2 separate regions of the Homo sapiens genome follow, and region 2 is linked to region 1. Evidence: promoter capture Hi-C in 16 types of primary human blood cells and fetal thymus (Javierre and others, 2016). All regions are on one chromosome and are shown on one strand. Each heading gives the region's core, a stretch centred on a gene start or on the middle of the fragment in contact. The rest is flanking DNA. Distances are from core to core; before and after follow the strand shown.

Evidence for each region. Contacts are between HindIII fragments. The CHiCAGO score rates a contact against its expected background, and 5 or more counts as called.
Region 2: the fragment with the promoter of FCAR here is called in contact with the fragment with the promoter of TNNT1 in region 1 in 2 of 17 cell types (M2 macrophages and M0 macrophages); the score reaches 12.6 in M2 macrophages.

What each region holds. Positions count from the first base shown.
Region 1 is chr19:55,147,875-55,150,607 of GRCh38, forward strand. It overlaps TNNT1 (troponin T1, slow skeletal type), which reads right to left and starts at 1,332. Exons shown (of 14, transcript NM_003283.6): 1 at 1,287-1,332. The HindIII fragment of the contact is 19,232 bases long and covers 1-2,733 here.
Region 2 is chr19:54,872,752-54,875,484 of GRCh38, forward strand. It overlaps FCAR (Fc alpha receptor), which reads left to right and starts at 1,484. Exons shown (of 5, transcript NM_002000.4): 1 at 1,484-1,572; 2 at 2,579-2,614. The coding sequence starts at 1,539. The HindIII fragment of the contact is 1,936 bases long and covers 611-2,546 here.

The sequences.
Region 1 (2,733 bases), core at 82-2,581:
CTGAGTCTGAGGGAGGAGCGGGCTGGGGGCCTGTACTCCTGCGTCTGAGGGAGGAGGGCTCAGGTCTGGACTCTTGGGTCTGAGGGAGGGGGCCGGCTGTCCTAAAGCATGCATGAGGACAGACCTTGGTAGGTGTGGTCCTGGCACAGCCAGGAGGCTGCAGACCCTGCCCCCTCAGCACAGCTGTCCTCTTTTGTCTTATGACAAGTCCATGGGAACCTGATCCAGTTGGGATTAGGAAGAGGCATTTGAGAAGGGACAGTGGCCTGAAGACAATAGCTGCCCCACCCCCAGGAGCTATTTTGGGGGGATGTCATAGATGGTGAAACCGAGGACATTTCCTAAGAAGGGATTTGAGGAAGGGGGGCTTCTGGGAGAATTAGTCACCCGCATCCCCTCTCCCACTCGCCCCACCCCACTGGCTGGTTTCCTCCCCACCTGTCTCCCCTTTCACCTTCCCATACATCACGTAGGGGGCAGGGGCATAAAGGGCACCTTCTGTCCGTAGACCTCACCCTGACCCCTACATTCTTAGACCTCAAAGTCTTTGAGACACCCTAGGCCACAGGGTGCCTAGCCCCAAATCCCAATACCCACAGATTCTGAGACCCCGATTTATGATGCCCGTGTTTCTGAGGCCAGCAAGTCCTCACAGCTCTGGATTCTGAAATCCCAGTTCTTGATAGTCCAGATATGGGCCGGGACATCCTAAGACCACCCCCAGGTCTTGAGACCTCCTAAAATCTGAAACCTCAAGAATATGAGACCCCCAAAATCTTGATACCCAAACTCGGAGGCCCAGTTCATGATACCCCAGATAATGGCACTCTAAGTTTTCATGCTTTCTATCATAATGTCTCAGATTCCGAGCCCTCCACTACCAAAACCCCAATTTCTTCTGAGACCCCCCCAATTCCTGATACCCTCAGAGTCTGAGGCCCCAAATCCTGACACCCAGATTGTTTGACCTCCAAGTCCAGATATCCCTGACTGCTGAGATTTCCCCCAGATTCCCAGAACCCCAAGATCCTAGGAGGTTTTATTCTGGGACATCCAAGTCCTGGCAGCCCCGGGTTAGGATTTGTGTAACCCACAAATCCTAGTATTTTCCCCTCTATCCTGAGTCCCCCTAAAGTCTGAGCCTCTCAAGTTCCCAGACCTCCAGTTGTATGCCCCACCTACCTCTGCACCATTTCTCCACACCCGACATCTTCCCCACCTGCCTCCTGCCCCCTCCCCCAAGGACATGGTTTTTGAAGACCACAGGGCTCCGCAGAGCCCCTTACCTAGGCTGTGTCTGAGATGCTGTGAATCTTGAGGCTGAGCCTTGCTGAGGGCACTGAAGCTCCGGGGAGTTTATAGCTGGAGGCTCGGGCCCGCCCCGAGGGGAGAGGGAGGGGGAGAGAATTCCTTTGCTCAAACACAAGCCTGGGAGTTCAGAGACAGCCCTGCTGCCCCTGGCTCCACACTCAGAGTCCAGAAGCCTCCGTGGGCCCCTCCCCAACCCCATGCCAACCCCATCTGCATGGCCCAGGAGCCCCGCCCCTGCTCCCACCCCACACCCCAGGCTCCCGTGGTGCTCCAACTACCTCCCTTATAGCTCCCTGTGCTTTGACGTCCCCATGCCCGGCACACAGTAGGTCCTTGGAGGACCTACTAATGACACATGGGCTATAAGGAATGTTTCCTGTTTTCTTCTCTCTGTTCCCTCTTTCTATCTAGGTCTCTTTCTGGACCCCCATTTCTGTTGTCTCTGTGGCTCTCCATCTGTGTGTCTCTGTGTGTCTGTCTCTACTTCTTAGTCTCCTCCTCTGTCTCTGTCCATCTTTTTGTCTCCTCCTCCCACCCCCACCCCTTTGTCTGCCGCCAGGATTCCATCCTGGTGACAACAGGCACTAAAGCCGGGAAGCAGGTGTGGGGAGGGGGAGGGGGAGGGTGGGGTGTCAATTAGGGTGAAACCTACCCTCCCTCCCCACCTCCATCTAACGCTGATCTTTTTTGGTATCCCCCTCCCGCTTCCCAGCCAAGCCATGACCTTGAGTTCTAGGTTCAAGCCAGCCCTGGAGAGCAGGCTTCCTCACCCTCCCCGCCTCTCCGTACCTCTGTCTCTGGTGGTCTCGGTCTTTGTGTTTCTGTGCATTTCTCGGGGCCCCTTGCTGGGTCTGTCTTGGGCTCTCTCTGCATCTGTCGCTTTCTGAGCCCCTCAGTGTGTTTCTCGGCATGTGTCTCCGGGTGGTTTTGTCTCTGCATTTCTGTGGGTGTCTCTGCATGTCTGCCCCTCTCAGCGTTTGTGTCTGTGGGGGCTCACAGTCTCTCTGTGCATTTCTGTCCACCTATGACCCCATTTCTGTCTCTTTTTGGCTCTGGGTCTCTGTGTCTGTGTTCACGTCTCTATCTTTCTAGTTCTCTCCATGTCTCTCTTAGTGCCCGCAGTTCCCCCTCTGTGGCTCTCCATTTCCATCTCTTATAGGGTCTCCATGTCTCTGCACCTTGCTGTGAGTATATCTCTGTCTCTCTTTTCTCCTTTCTTTGCACTTCCTTCTATGCATCTTGTGGTATTTTCTCCCTCTCTCTTTGGGTCTTTGCCTGGCTCCTACTCTCTCTACTCCCAACTCAGTCTCTCTGTTGTCGGTCATGTCTCTCTGCCTGTCTGTTTCTCTGTGTCTCTCTCTCTTTGACCTTTAGTCTTGGCATCTCTGTGCACTCCACATGGGCCAGAGGAGCTGTGACAAT
Region 2 (2,733 bases), core at 234-2,733, 270 kb before region 1:
TCACGAGGTCAGGAGATCGAGACCATCCTGGCTAACACGGTGAAACCCCGTTTCTACTGAAAATACAAAAAAAATTAGCCGGGCGTGGTGGCGGATGCCTGTAGTCCCAGCTACTCGGGAGGCTGAGGCAGGAGAATAGCATGAACCCAGGAAGTGGAGCTTGCAGTGAGCTGAGATCACGCCACTGCACTCCAGCCTGGGCGACAGAGCAAGACTCCGTCTCAAAAAAAAAAAAAGAATAAATAAAATAAAATAAAATAGTAGAAGGTTTAATTAGGAATATTTCACTCTCCATACCTGAAGAATTCGTGATAGCCAGGAGTCTACAATCAAAATAACATAAATAATAAGATAAAAATAAAATTAATTTGAAGCCATAAAAAAAGAATGAGTTCATATGTTTTGTGGAAACATGGATGGAGCTGGAGGCCATTATCCTTAGCAAACTATACAAGAACAGAACACCAAATACAGCAGGTTCTCACTTATAAGTGGAAGCTAAATAATAGAACTCATGAACACAAAAAAGGGAAAAACAGACAATGGGGTCTCCTTTAGGGTGGAGGGTGGGAGGCGGGAAAGGAGCAGGCAAAGTAACTATTAGGTACCAAGCTTATTACCTAGGTGATGAAATAATCTGTACAACAAACCCCCATGACACAAGTTTACCTGTATAACAAACCTTCCCATGTACCCTTGAACCTAAAATAAAAGTTAAAAAAATACTCAATGAGCAACAATGTACATTATTTGAGGATAATTATATTAAAAGCCCAGACTTCACCACTACACAAAATATCCACGTAATAAAATTTCACTTGCGCTCCTTAAATTTATACAAATAAACAAAAAAGTATAATAAAATAGTAGATTCTTTCTTTAGAGATGACAAATAGTGCCAGAGAAAATGCCTCCACACTCTGGCATTGAGATCATCTCCAGGATAAGGGTATACTGCATGCCTGGTCAAGTCCAAGTAAATATACTCAGACCATGAATCTCAGAGATGAAACATAGGTTCAGAACAGACAAAGCCACAGAGCTTTTGACTAATGGCCCAGTGAAGGCAATGTCTGCCTGTATGGTATCCACCACCTTATATTCTGTCCCAAGCCCGTCTATTTGGATGTAGCATCTGGTTCAAAGATGAATTTGAACACCATTAGACACTGGCTTAATGAAAATTCACTTCTCATTCGTTTCTCATCTGAAACATAAATAGAAATATAGGTCTTAGGCAGGAGGATTTCTTGATGCCAGAAGTTAGAGACTACCCTGGCCAACATAGAAAGACCCCATCTCTATTTAAAAAAATATACATATATATGTCTTCTCTTGGGCTCCACCCAAGAGCAACCTGGAACTAAGTTATTCGGCAACGAACTGTTCCACTTTGTTGTGAGGCAATAGATGTGGAAATTCCCTGACGAGGGGCTCTGTCCTCATACTTCCTGCGGAGCTTATTGTCGTAAGAATATCTGTCATCCTGCTAATGTGCATTGAAAGGAGAGCAACGGGGCTGAGGCCGTGTCAGCACGATGGACCCCAAACAGACCACCCTCCTGTGTCTTGGTGAGTTTCAGAGTAAAAGTGGGTTAGAGGGGAAGATAGAGAAATCCCAAAATAATCAGGGTGTCTCTTAACAGTGTGACTAGGAGATTTTAGTGGCTGCCAAGGAGATTCTGATCTCCTTAGTGGAAAGGCCGTCTTTGTCAATGTATCTATAACTTTGTCTCTACCCAAGCCCAAGCTAGCTTGTGGGGCTCAAGGTTTAATATTTGTATTAAACCTATAGTGTGTTATCTGGGATTCATGATGGTCCCAAGGTTCTTATCAAGGAGAGACTTAGAGGCTGGAATCTGAAAGGTAAAAATAAAGAATGAACCTCAAAACTGTGATTGTTGTGGAAGGAAAACATATGATAGAACCCCATATAGAAATATGGTTACTAGTATTTTGTTGAAGATTTTTGCATTTATGTTCAACAAAGATATTATCCAGAAGTTTTCTGTTTTTGTTGTATCTCTGCCACATTTTGTTATCAGGATAATGTTGGCCTCATAGAATGAGTTGGGGAGGAGTCCCTCCTCCAGGATTTTTTTCAATAGTTTCAGTAGGAATAATACTAGCTCTTCTTGGCCGGGCGCAGTGGCTCACACCTGCAATCCCAGCACTTTGGGAGGCCAAGGCAGGCGGATCACAAGGTCAGGAGATCAAAACCATCCTGGCCAACATGGTGAAACCCTGTCTCTACTAAAAATACAAAAAAATTAGCCAGGCGTGGTGGCGGGCGCCTGTAGTCCCAGCTACTCGTGCGGCTGAGGCAGGAGAATGGCATGAACCTGGGAGGCAGAGCTTGCAGTGAGCCAAGATCATGCCACTGCACTCCAGCTTGGGCGACACAGCGAGACTCTGTCTCAAAAAAAAAAAAAAATGCCAGCTCTTCTTTATATATCTGGTGGGATTGAGCTGTGAATCCATCTGGTACTGGTCTTTTTCTGGTCTGTCATTACAGAGGGTGATTTGTCGTAAAGGTTGGAAATGGAAGCTTGATTTTTCATAAATCTCTCTCTTCCAGTGCTCTGTCTGGGCCAGAGGATTCAGGCACAGGAAGGTAAGTGTCCTGTAAATCTCTCCCAGCCCCTTTAGACCCTCTTGGGAGCTCTAGGATAAAGAAATTGAAGAATAGCCTGAAGCACCATTCTTATTTTAATCCCCATTCTAGTTGTTTCT